Linked DNA regions of Homo sapiens: region 2 is linked to region 1. The links are contacts of gene promoters, found by promoter capture Hi-C in blood cells and fetal thymus (Javierre and others, 2016). All regions are on one chromosome and are shown on one strand. Each heading gives the region's core, a stretch centred on a gene start or on the middle of the fragment in contact. The rest is flanking DNA. Distances are from core to core; before and after follow the strand shown.

The links. The method cuts DNA at HindIII sites, captures the fragments that hold promoters and counts their contacts. A CHiCAGO score of 5 or more calls a contact.
Region 2: the fragment with the promoter of ACTL9 here is called in contact with the fragment with the promoter of MYO1F in region 1 in 1 of 17 cell types (monocytes); the score reaches 5.6 in monocytes.

What each region holds. Positions count from the first base shown.
Region 1 is chr19:8,573,621-8,580,415 of GRCh38, reverse strand. It overlaps MYO1F (myosin IF), which reads left to right and starts at 2,974. Exons shown (of 28, transcript NM_012335.4): 1 at 2,974-3,109. The coding sequence starts at 3,107. ADAMTS10 (ADAM metallopeptidase with thrombospondin type 1 motif 10) reads left to right here. Exons shown (of 26, transcript NM_030957.4): 26 at 1-176. RefSeq lists silencers at 1,448-1,642, 2,863-3,012, 3,550-3,599 and enhancers at 3,720-3,899, 4,070-4,129, 4,470-4,529. The HindIII fragment of the contact is 24,150 bases long and covers 1-6,795 here.
Region 2 is chr19:8,694,234-8,700,294 of GRCh38, reverse strand. It overlaps ACTL9 (actin like 9), which reads left to right and starts at 1,500. Exons shown (of 1, transcript NM_178525.5): 1 at 1,500-2,895. The coding sequence starts at 1,594. The coding sequence ends at 2,844. The HindIII fragment of the contact is 13,278 bases long and covers 1,257-6,061 here.

The sequences.
Region 1 (6,795 bases), core at 1,725-4,224:
CTCCCCTGACCTGACTAGGGGGAGGATCCACCCCAACCTCTGCCCTGCCCGCCCCAGGGGCACCCCGACATCCAGGCCACCCCCTCATGGTGCTACAGACCCTGCCCTGGGGCCCACACACTCCTGCCAGGAAGCCCTACATCAATAAAGTTCTGTCTTGTGTAGATTTCTACGAATTGCGGTGTGTGTGTGTCAGTGCATCCAGTAGCCCCCACCCAGGTCTGGAAAGGACCACCCATTCTCCCAGGTCTACCCAACAGCCAAAAGGGGACTTCTTTTTTTTTTTTCCTGAGACGGTCCCTGTCGCCCAGCTATGCCTATCATAGCTCACTGCAGCCTTGATCTCCTGGACTCAAGTGATCCTCCCACTTCCACCTTCTGAATAGCTGGGACTACAGGCGTGCACGACCACACCCAGCTGATTTATTTATTTTTTTTTTTTATTTTTTTTTTTTTTTGAGACGGAGTCTTGCACTGTTGCCCAGGCTGGAGTGCAGTGGCACGATCTCGGCTCACTGCAAGCTCCGCCTCCTGGGTTCATGCCATTCTCGCCTCAGCCTCCCGAGTAGCTGGCACTACAGGCGCCCGCCAACATGCCCAGCTAATTTTTTGTACTTTTTTAGTAGAGACGGGGTTTCACCGTGTTAGCCAGGATGGTCTCGATCTCCTGACCTCGTGATCTGCCCGCCTCGGCCTCCCAGAGTGCTGGGATTACAGGCATGGGCCACCGTGCCCAGCCAGAAGGGGACTTTTAACATTGCAGACAGGAACCCAGGGATTTTAGGAGAAAAGTACAACAGCTTCTCGTGGAAGGGTTTTGCTTTTTTGTTTTTGTTTTTTGAGACAGGGTCTCACTCTGTAGCCCAGGCTGGAGTTCAGTGGCACGATCTCAGCTCACTGCAGCCTTGAACTCCTGGGCTTAAACGATTCTCCTGCCTACCCTGCCAAGTAACTGAGATTATAGGTGCAACAGCACACCTAGCTGATTTTTTAATTTTTTGTAGAGACGAGGTCTTGCTATGTTGCCCAAGCTGGTCTGGAACTCCTGGGCTCAAGCGATCCTCCCACCTCAGCCTCCCAAAGTTCTGGGATTACAGGCATCAGCCACCATGCCTGGCCCTCACAGAGGCTCTTAAAGCCACACGGTCTAGCACCTGCCACCCTGGCCATCACACTCTCCGTCACTCCGCATGCTCCAGCCACACCAGCCTCCCCGAACTTCCTCAATTGCCCTATGGTTTTCCCATATCTGGGCCTTTGCTTGAGCGCTTAGCATGGCCAGGTGCACGCTCCTGCCCCTTTACCTTTTTTAACTCCAGCTTACTCGCCGGTGTCAGCACAAACGTTGCCTCTTCCTAGAAGCCTCCCCTGATGGCCCCCAACAAAGTGGGGTCCTCTTACCCATTCATATTCACTCTTGAGTGCCTGGAGACATTGCTGAGAATTGCATGCCCCAAGCCCGTCAATTCTGCAAACTCGCTCAGGAGATTCCAGCAGAGACGGGCTCCTTCCCAGCTGTGGCCACTAGGGGCGCTGCATATTAACATCTTCAAGGGGGATGCGGGTTTATCGCCCTGGACCAAAGATAGATCTGAACATGGGTCCCCCAGGGTCTCCCAGGGTCGGGTCCTGCCTCGGCCACCTCCTTGCTGGGTGGTGTGGGGAAGTAACAACCTATTAGAACTGCCATTTCCTCACATGTCAAGAGGAGCCTCAGGTGGTTGGCTGGTGTCCCAAAGACCAGCTCATAGGCTGACACGTACCTGGGCCAGGCTCTGCTGGGGGGACCCACGTTCCCATTTTACAATGAGAAAAGGGAGTAACTAAGTCATCCAGGAAGTAGCCAAACTGGAGGCTGTTAAATCTAGATGTGACATCCAAAGTCAGGGACCTTTCAGATGCACCTGCTTCCCAGTACCCTCCACTTCTGCACACAAACACGTGTGACTTCTGAGGGTCATCTAAAGAGGGAGGTTGGGCCAGGCGTGGTGGCTTATGCCTGTAATCCCAGCACTTTGGGAGGCCGAGTTGGGAGGATCACCTGAGGTCAGGAGTTCAAGGCCGGCCTGGCCAACATGGCGAAATTCCGTCTCTACTAAAAATACAAATATTAGCCAGGTGTGGCGGTGGGCACCTGTAATCCCAGCTACTCAGGAGGCTGAGGCAGGAGAATCGCTTGAACCCAGGAGGCGGAGATTAAAGTAAGCTGAGATTGCACCACTGCATTCTAGCCTGGGTGACAGAGCTAGACTCCGTCTCAAAATAATAACAATAATAATAATGAAGGAGGTTGCCCAGGGATGCCCAGAGCAGACACAGCTGAAGAAGGCACCCTTCCCTGTTGTTGTTGTTTTTTTGGTTTTTTTGTTTTTTCTGGTTTGTTTTTAGAGACAGGGTCTCACTCTTTCGCCCAGGCTGGAGTGCAGTGGCGCAATCAGGGCTCACTGAGGCCTCCACCTCCCAGGTTCAAGCAATCCTCCCACCTCAGCCCTCTGAGTAGCTGGGACTGCAGGCTCATGCCACCATGCCCAGCTAATTTTTTTTCTTTTCATTTTTTGTAGAGATGGGGTCATGCTATATAGCCCAGGCTGGTCTCAAACTCCTGGACTCAAGCGATCCTCCAACCTTGGCCCCCCAAAGTATTGGGATTACAGGCGTGAGCCACCTCCCCTGGGCCCCTTCCTTGGTTTTAAAAAGAGACCCGGGAAGCCCAAATGCTTCCTGAATCGCCCTGAAAAGAGGTGGTTCGTCCTGCAGCCAGCTGACCCAAATGTTCCTGCAGCAGCCCTGTCCCCAAGGAGTTGGGGAAGAGGCCTCTGAGGTCCAGTAGTGGCTGCCATCAAGTTCTGACCCCTCCCTTCAGGCTCAGAGCCCCAAACAGCCAGCTCCCCGCCCCCCTCCACACCCAGCTTCCCTCCCCCATGGCCTCGGCCCCTCCCGCCAAAGGAAGTGAGAAGGGGCTGTTGTAAGAGGAACTAAAGCCGGGAGTCCGGTGAACGGGCAGAAGCAGGGCCATGCCCAAGCCACCCCCAAGATCCCCCTGAACCTGCACCTCCATCACGACCCATTCAGGAGCCTCCAGGAGCCCAGACACCAGCCCCCCACCATGGTAAGTCCTTCAAGGGTGGGATCTGGAAGAAGAAAGAGGAGGGACACCAGCCAGGTGGAGGTGTCCTAAAAATGACCATCAGAAATTGGGGTGAGGGGAGGGGCATGGTGGACTTCTGTGGGGGTGGGGTGTCTCTCAGTGCAGCTCAGGTGCCTCCAGCATCCCTTACCAGGGAGCAAGCTCCCATCTGTAGGTGGTGGGGATGCCAGGGTGGTATCCCTGGATCCAAGGATAGGGCAGGACCTGGAAGACAGAAGGTGGCCCAGGGAGAATCACAGAGTCTGCAGGGACAAGGACATAGCCTCCTTTGCTTGCAAATTAAGGGAGCCCTTTCCCAGTCCAGCCCAGTCTCTCGTCTCCCTGTGTAGCCTTGGGCTAGTCACTTCCCCTCTCTTGGCCCCGGTTCCCACAGATGTCATATTTGGAAATCCGTCTAGATGCGGAAGTTGCTCTTCAGGGGTCTTTCAGTTGCAACATTCTCAAGGTCTGTGGGTTCTGCCACAGAGTCCTCGGCTGAGATGGGAAGCTATGTCTAACAAGCGATGGGGTGGATTGACGCCCTCCCTGTGCCGGTGACGGGCGGTATGGCTGCAGCAGAGGCAGGAGAGGCTGAATACGTCCATGCCACCCTTTGGTGGGCATCCCTTATCCCAAGAGGAGGATGGCAGCCAGAGGTGTTGCTGCCTGTCAAGTCTGAGGTCTGTCGATGATAGCAACGGGGAGACTGTCGTGATCATGGCGCTATTCCTAGCAGTATCGTACCACCATAAGACGCAAAGTAAGAGGTGGCCAGGGCTGACCCCACCCCACAGCTCTCTGCTGTGTAGACCACTTCAGCTTTCATTTCTCGTCATTCAGTCAGTGAGGATGAGAGCATGTGGCTGTGACAGCGGCCACTGCAGGATTCTTGGCAGGTACAGCTTACTAGGGTGGAGTCAGGGACATAGGGCAAGAGGCAGAGGTGGTGTTAGTCTGAGAGACAACACCTTCTTTCAGGAAGCCAGTGAGGGCCAGGGACAGTGGCTCATGCCTGTAATCCCAGCATTTTAGGAGGCTGAGACAGGTAGATCACTTGAGGTCAGGTGTTCGAGACCAGCCTGGCCAACGTGGTGAAACCTCGTCTCTACTAAAAAATACAAAAAATTAACTGGGCGTGGTGGCACACGCCTGTAATCCCAGCTACATATGAGGCTGAGGCAAGAGAATAACTTGAACCCAGGAGGCGGAGGGTGCAGTGAGCTGAGATCCTGCCGCTGCACTCCAGCCTGGGTGACAGAGCACACTCCGTCTCAAAAAAGGAAAGCTGATGAGAAATTGGGCATCCCGGAATTCACACCCAAACCATCAGCTGGAGCTCTGAGACTGTTGGGGTGGGAATTCTTCCAAGATGAGAAGCAAGCCAGGGAGGCTCAGGTCCTGGGATGGGCAGGGCTTTGATCAAAAGAACACAGGAAGTGATTTGCTACTTGAAAGAAAGGCAACCCCTCCCCAAGGAAGCCCTCTGAAAATGCTTAGTCAACAGTCGGCTTGGCAGACAAGGTCTGGGAGGGGCCACCCGTATCGCAGAGGATGATAGAAGAGAAAAAAATGACACCCACCTCTGTCTGGGGATGCTGAAATCTTCCTGGAGGAGTGGTGAATGCCAGGAAGATCGCTGAAGGATTCAATGAAACAGTATTTCTGAAGTCCTTTACAACAGGGTCCCCAACCCCCGGGGTCATGGACTGCTATCGGGCCATGGTCTGTCTGTTAGAAACCATGAGCCCTATCGGGTCACAGAGCAGGAGATGAGTGGCAGGCAAGCAAGCCCGAGCTCCACCTCCTCTCAGATTCTCGGGGGCGCCATTAGATTATCACAGGATCGCAAACCCTGTTGTGAACTGCACACACGAGGGATCCAGGTTGCATGCTGCTTATGACAATCTAATGCCCGGCCGGGTGCGGTGGCTCACACCTGTAATCCTAGCACTTTGGGAGGCCGAGGCGGGCAGATCACGAAGTCAAGAGATAGAAACGATCCTGGCCAACGTGGTGAGACCCCGTCTCTCCTAAAAATACAAAAATGAGCTGGGTGTGGTGGCACATGCCTGTCATCCTAGCTACTCGGGAGGCTGAGGCAGGAGAATCGCTTGAACCCGGGAGGCGGAGGTTGCAGTGAGCCAAGATCACACCATTGCACTACAGCCTCGGCGACAGAGCCAGACTCCGTCTCAAAAAAAAAAAAAAAAGAAAAAGAAAATCTAATGCCGTTGGCAGGGTGCAGTGGCTCATGCCTGTAATCTCAACACTTTTGGAGGCCGAGGTGGGCGGATCACCTGAGGTCAAGAGTTCAAGACCAGCCTGGCCAACATGGCAAAACCCTGTCTCTACTAAAAATACAAAAATTAGCCAGTCGTGGTGGTGCGCGCCTGTAACCCCAGCTACCCGGGAACCTGAGATAGGAGAATCACTTGAACCCAGGAGGCAGAGGTCGCAATGAGACGAGATCACGCCACTGCACTCCAGCCTGGGCCACAGAGAGAGGCTCCATCTCAAAAAAAAAAGAAAGAGAGAGAGAAAGAAAGAAAGAAAAAGAAAGAAAGAAAGAGAAAGAAAAAGAAAGAAAGAGAGAAAGAGAAAGGAAGAAAGAAAGAAAGAGAGAAAGAAGAAAGAGAAAGAAAGGAAAGAAAGAAAGAAAGAAAGAAAGAAAGAAAGAAAGAAAGAAAGAAAGAGAGAGAGAGAGAGAGAGAAAGAAAGAAAGAAAGAAAGAAAGAAAGAAAGAAAGAAAGAAAGAAAGGGAAAAAAGAAGAAATAAAGGAAAAGAAAGAAAAGAAAATCTAATGCCCCGCTCCATGGTCCATGGAAAAATTGTCTTCCATTAAACCGGTCTCTGGTGCCAAAAATGTTGGGGACCATTGCTTTACAGAGCACATAACATGCACTTGATCCATGGTAGCTGCCATTAGCTGGGATGTCCATTCATTTCTGGATTCAGCAATGAGGATGGACGGAGGTGACGATTGTGGTAATTGGGGAGGAGTTGCTGCGAGTGGTCATTGCTGGGTTGTTGGTGTCATTGGTTGTGGTGGTGGTTGTGGCTGTTTCTTGTTGCAGGTTCGTGGTGATAATGGCTCTTGCAGGTGGGCTGGTGGTGGTGGCGGTTGGTGTTTAATGTTGTTCGTTGGTGGTGGATTGTTTTCAGCTGGAAATTCTGGAGATGCTTGGTGACCAGTGGAATGATGACCATCGGTGGTTGCTGTTATTTGGAGAGGAAAGGTGTTGGTAGTAGCGTTCATTTGCTGCTGGTAGTTTATTGTTGGTTTCTGGTAAGATGATGATCAGCAATGGTGGTGCTGGTTCAATGTTGGGTTTTGAACAGGATAGGACTGGTGACTGCTGCTTTCTGTGGTTGCTAATGGTAGTTGGTTATGTGTGGTTGTTGATGGCTAGTATTGTTTTTTTGTTTTGTTTTGTTTCTGAGACAGAGTCTCGCTCTGTCACCCCGGCTGGAGTGCAGTGGTGCAATCTCGGCTCACTGCAACCTCCACCTCCTGGCTTCAAGCAATTCTCGTGCCTCAGCCTCCCAAGTAGCTGAGATTACAAGCACCTGCCACCACACCCAGCTAATTTTTGTGCTTTTAGTGGAGACGGGGTTTCGCCATGTTGGCCAGGCTGGTCTCCAACTCCTAACCTCAAGTGATCCACCC
Region 2 (6,061 bases), core at 251-2,750, 120 kb before region 1:
TTGTTGAGATAATTCCTTCCTCCCAAATGCACCCTCTCCCCTTTTATCTATACTGAAACCCCTTCTTGTATCTCACTGAGCCCCTCTCCTGCCAGGAGGAAGCAGGTAACAACCCCTGGAGAGAAGGCAGACTTCCCCCATCCCTCATCTAGTTGGAGTACAGAGTAGAAATCAGGGTTGGCTTCCAGGAGGAGGTGGCATCAGACTGAGATTTGAAGAGGCAAATTCCTTCTTGGCAGGAATGGGACAGGGAGAATGATTCAGGCAGTGAATATAGCAGAGGAAGCAAAGAATCTAGGACAGGGGTGTTCCTGTCTCTCCCTGCCTCTCTCCATCCCCAACCAAGGCTGGCCTCTGTCTCCATTTGGAAACCAGGAAGCCATGCTAGCCCGCCCCACCTTCTAATTAATATTCTGAGGAGGAATATTCTAATATTCTAGGGAGGCCTGTGGCAAGCTCTCTGCCACTAGGCTGTAAATAGCTTCATGGCGAGGTACCCAGAGGAGGATTCCTGGGTCTTCCTGAAAGCGTGGCCCAAAGAGTTAGAGAAACCAATTTTGCATGTTTTTAGTGAAACCATGCCCCAAAGAAATGTTTGAGCTTGCAGAATGGCAGATCAAAAAAGAAACAACTTGCTGAAATGCCTTCCACTTATGAGGGTTTTTTGTTTGTTTCTTTGTTTGTTTGTTTGTTTGTTTTGAGATGAGTCTCGCTCTGTCATACAGGCTGGAGTGCAGTAGCATGATCTTGGCTCGCTGCAACCTCCACCTCCCGGGTTCAAGAGATTCTCCTGCCTCAGCCTCCCTAGTAGCTGGGACTACAGGCATGTGCCACCATGCCTGGCTAATTTTTTTTCTTTTATTTTCTTTTTCTTTTGAGACAGAGTCTCACTCCATCCCCCAGCCTGGAGTGCGGTGGCATGATCTTGGTTCACTTCAACCTCCACCTCCTGGGTTCAAGTGATTCTCCTGCCTCAGCCTCCCCAGTAGCTGGGACCACAGGCATGCGCCACCATGCCAGGCTAATTTTTGTATTTTTTGGTAGAGACGGGTTTCACCATGTTGGCCAGGCTGGTCTCGAACTCCTGACCTCAGGTGATCTCCCACCTCGGTCTCCCAAAGTGCTGGGATTACAGGTGTGAGCCACAGCCCCCGGCCCCAGAACTTTTCTAATAAAATTACTGCCTTAAAGCCAGCTGAGAAACAGACTTGTGCTGGATTCCTAGCTCCCAGTGGGTTGACATGCAACAAAAAGCTTGTCTTTTCTCAAAAACCAGGTGCCATCGTATTAGCTTCTAGCGCATCCGACAGAAATGTGTTAAGAGGGCCCTGCTCTGAGATGCTCATCTCCTCCTCCAAATTTGGCTCTTCAGAGAAGAGATGACAGCCTTTGGGCAGGCAGGGCTGGGCAGGGACCCATCCTCTTGGCTGCATTGTGATGTCTTAAGAAGACTGAAGGGGCACCGTGACGTCATAGATTGCGGGCCCACCCCTCCCCCTGTCTGCCTGCCCTCCCCACTGGCCGGGCCTCAACCTCTTCTCCCCGCAACCCCAACCCCAGAGGAAAAGCCCCCTCACCTGGCGTCCCGCAACCATGGATGCAAGTCGCCCCAAGTCCTCGGAATCCCAGTCCTCCCTGGAGGCCCCCAGGCCCGGCCCAAACCCCAGTCCCAACGTGGTGAACAAGCCCCTGCAGCGGGACTCCCCCGGCATGGTGGCCGACAGGCTGCCACCAAAGACCGGCGCGGTGGTTATTGACATGGGCACAGGCACCTGTAAGGTAGGTTTTGCTGGGCAGGCCAGCCCCACCTACACCGTGGCCACCATCCTGGGCTGCCAGCCCAAGAAACCCGCCACCTCGGGGCAGTCCGGGCTGCAGACGTTCATCGGCGAGGCAGCCCGCGTGCTCCCAGAGCTGACGCTGGTGCAACCCCTGCGCAGCGGCATCGTCGTGGACTGGGATGCCGCCGAGCTCATCTGGCGCCACCTGCTGGAGCACGACCTCCGAGTGGCCACCCACGACCACCCGCTGCTGTTCTCCGACCCACCCTTCAGCCCGGCCACCAACCGCGAGAAGCTAGTGGAGGTGGCCTTCGAGTCGCTGCGCTCCCCAGCCATGTACGTGGCATCGCAGTCGGTGCTGTCTGTCTACGCCCACGGTCGTGTCAGCGGGCTGGTGGTGGACACGGGACACGGGGTCACCTACACAGTGCCCGTCTTCCAGGGCTACAACCTGCTCCACGCCACGGAGCGTCTGGACCTGGCGGGCAACAACCTGACCGCCTTCCTGGCGGAGATGCTGCTCCAGGCCGGCCTGCCCCTGGGACAGCAGGACCTGGACCTAGTGGAGAACATTAAGCACCACTATTGCTACGTGGCCTCCGACTTCCAGAAGGAGCAGGCCCGGCCGGAGCAGGAGTACAAGCGGACTCTGAAGCTGCCCGATGGGCGCACGGTCACCCTGGGCAAGGAGCTGTTCCAGTGTCCGGAGCTGCTGTTCAACCCCCCAGAGGTCCCGGGGCTGTCACCCGTCGGCCTCTCCACCATGGCCAAGCAGAGTCTCCGCAAGTTGTCACTGGAGATGCGCGCGGACTTGGCCCAAAACGTGCTTCTCTGCGGTGGGTCCTCGCTCTTCACCGGCTTCGAGGGTCGCTTCCGGGCAGAGCTGCTGCGCGCTCTGCCAGCCGAGACCCACGTGGTGGTGGCTGCCCAGCCCACCAGGAATTTCTCCGTATGGATCGGGGGCTCCATCCTGGCCTCCCTGCGCGCCTTCCAGTCCTGCTGGGTCCTGCGGGAGCAGTACGAGGAACAGGGTCCCTATATCGTGTACCGCAAATGCTACTGACCAGGGCAGAGCTGGGGAGGGCGTGGGGGCAGTAAAGCCTCTGCTACAGCCGGCTCTGTCCTGTCCTTCCTCCAGGGCCTGCCCCATCCACTCCTGGGCACCTCGCCCCACAGGCTGACCTAACTCACCTCCTGTGATGCATGCCCTGAGACACCCCAATCCTGACCCCCTAAACCCACCTTCCCCATGAATAACTCCCAACAGACCACTAAGTTCTAATCCTGTCAACCCATCCTCCTGTGATCTGTGCCCCTCCCCAGGCACCCTTGGGTTGGGACACCCCCTCCCCAGACCACCTCTGACAAGTGCCCTTCCCATTTACACACTCCCAGAGATGGGGAGTTCACTACCTCAAGGCTATTGTTAGAAATATCACCTCCTCCTATGAGTCATAGATAAGCCTCCACCTGGCACCTGCCCCCAACCCCAAACATGAAGAACATGAAAGCCTCTGACCACCCACCCCATGCCCACACACACCCCTAGGGTCTGCCACATACCCAAGCCACATACCCAATTCCTTCCATTTCTAGTTTAAGTGATTCATGCATTGATCCCACATACATTCATTAATTACCCACTATGTGCCCAAGACATCCTCAAATACTGACTCCCTAATCTCACCCCATTATCTATTGCTTTTGATATAGCATCCCAAAATACCCCTGGGCTCCAAACCCTCCAAACTGCCACCCCCCTTAGTATGCTCCTCAGGGACCCCCCAACCCAGTCTCTACCCCGGAATGCTCCAACCTCCTCCCAGAATCTTCCCGTGAGTGCTCCAACCCCTGGGTGCACCCCCATAATCTTCCCCTTATTTCTAATCCCCCCAAACACACTCTTAAATTCCACTTGTCAAGATTCCACTTGTCAAGATACCCCTGGTTCTCAGCACCCCAAATCCACCTCTTCATTGGTTTCCCCTAGGATGCCCCCCACAAGTGCTGACCCCCCAGATCCATCACAGAGACCTGAATTCTGACTTTCAAGGGTTTCTCCTACAATGGTCCCACCATGGGATGCCCCTGGCATCCATCATCCCTGCAGAACTCTCCCCTCCCCTCAGGATTTTTCCCCCAGACCTCCCCTGGCCCCACCTCCACTGACCAGGTGGTCCCATCACCCATCCCCCATCCATCTTCCCAAAACACATCATTCTGAGATCCACCCCCGAAACCCCAGGGTGGACCCCTGTTGCTCTAAGACCACTTTCTTGCACTGTGTCTCCGCCCGAAATACTCCCAAATGTTCTCTCTCACAGGACACTTCCTGACCCTCTTCCTCAGCCCCCAGCTCCTCCCAGGAAAGAGCCAGCCTCCCAAATGTCATGCTCAGGTCCCCATGAGCATCCTATAACGACCCCACTAGACCCTAGGCCCTCCTCTGTGTTCCAACACCTCCCAACTCCCTCCTCCACAGACTCTCCCAAAGATACCCTCCCAGGCACCCCATGATGTGCACCCCGCCCTGGAACTCTCACAGGCTCTCCGGAACCCACTCCCCAAGACCATTCCCTGGACACCATACTATCAAGCAAGACTTGGACATCAGTGGGTAGTGATACTCTTAAGGGCTTCCCAGTCCACTGCAGTCATGGGGCAGATGCCCCAGGCAAGGAGCTTCACCTGGACACTGGCTCTCTCACTCGCCCCAGCACAGGCACCCAGGGCCCATGTGTCCCAGGCTATGCATCCCCATCTCCCTCCATTCCATTAAAAGTCCATCTCTCAGCCTGTTCCTCTCAGTCCCATGAGCTTTCTCTGGGTTGTGCACTGAGGATGCTCGAGGAGGCCTCTCCCACCCCACCCTGTCCCTGCCAGGGTCGGGAGGGGGAATCCAGCCTCTCAGGATGGCGAGCGTCCTGGGTCCCCTCTGGAGGTAGGACCCTCTGTCTTCATGCCCCCTAGCCCAGCCTGAAGGACATCCGGACCTCCAGCCAGCAGTCTGGACACAACCCCCAGTTTATCAACACAGTAGACAGGAGCTGCTGGAGGTTATCCATGTCTGTGTCAAGTCCTCTTTTTGCTCAGCCCAAGAAATCATTCATTCACTCATTCATTCATTCTTTCAGCCAGTCACTATTTAAGGAGCATCACTCACAGGATCTGTAGGCTCCTGCTGTGTCTTTCTGTGCATTGCTAACTTTTCAGGAGTTTTGTGCTCAGTTGCTGTGTTTGTTTGTTTGTTTGTTTGTTTGTTTGTTTGTTTGTTTTTGAGACAGGGTCTCGCTCTGTCACCCCATCTGGAGTGCAGCCGCATGATCATGACTCGCTGCAGCCTCAGCCTCCCCCAGCTCAGGTGATCCTCCCACCTCAGCCTCCCGAATAGCTGGGACTGCAGGTGCATGCCACCACATCTGGCTAATTTTTTGTATTTTTAGTAGAGATGGGGTTTCACCATGTTGCTCAGGCTGGTCTCCAATTCCTGGGCTCAAGCGATCCATCCACCCCTGCCTCCCAAAGTGCTGGGATTCCAGGCGTGAGCCACCACACCTGGCCTCACTTGATGTGTTTCTTTCTCCCTAAACCAGCGTGTGTGTCTCTGTCTCTACCTGCCTCTCTCTCTCTCTCTCTCTCTCTCTCTCTCTCTCTCTCTCTTCCTCTCCGTCTGACTCACCTGCAAGAACCATGCTTATGGATGGAATTTTCCAGAGTGGAAATGCATTTATCTGTGGAGCAGTGAGGCGACCTCCCCTACCCTCCAAGTCAGCCGTGAGAAACTCCCCACCCACCCTGTCCCACTGTGTCCTGGAGAGTAGGCTGTGGCTCCAGGCTCACCCTGGGTTAGTGTGAGATCCTCAGCTCAGGGGTGGGGGGCCCCCACTGACAGGCCAAGATCTCCAGATCACAAATATTCAGGGTTGGACCCGCTCTGACCCAGCCGGGCTCTCCCCAAGGTAGACTCAACCTATAGAATGCACAGAATCCCCTACCAGGAGGTCATGGGGTGTTGAGGAGACATTTCTTCTCCTCCACACCAGGGGGCAGCACCTCCAAGCTCAAGGGCATGGAATTCAGAACGTTGATGCCTGGAGCAAGCCAGACACCCAGACCCCAAGTGAGACCCACTCCAAGCTCCAGCCACAAGGCACAGAAGGTATGTGAGACAGGCTGAGTCTCAGATACCACAGGAAGTGAGGGAGATGCAGAAACCCTGTCACCCCTGGGCTCCTGGGAAACCCAATGAATCCTCATTTAGAGCAGACTGAGGTTCCCTG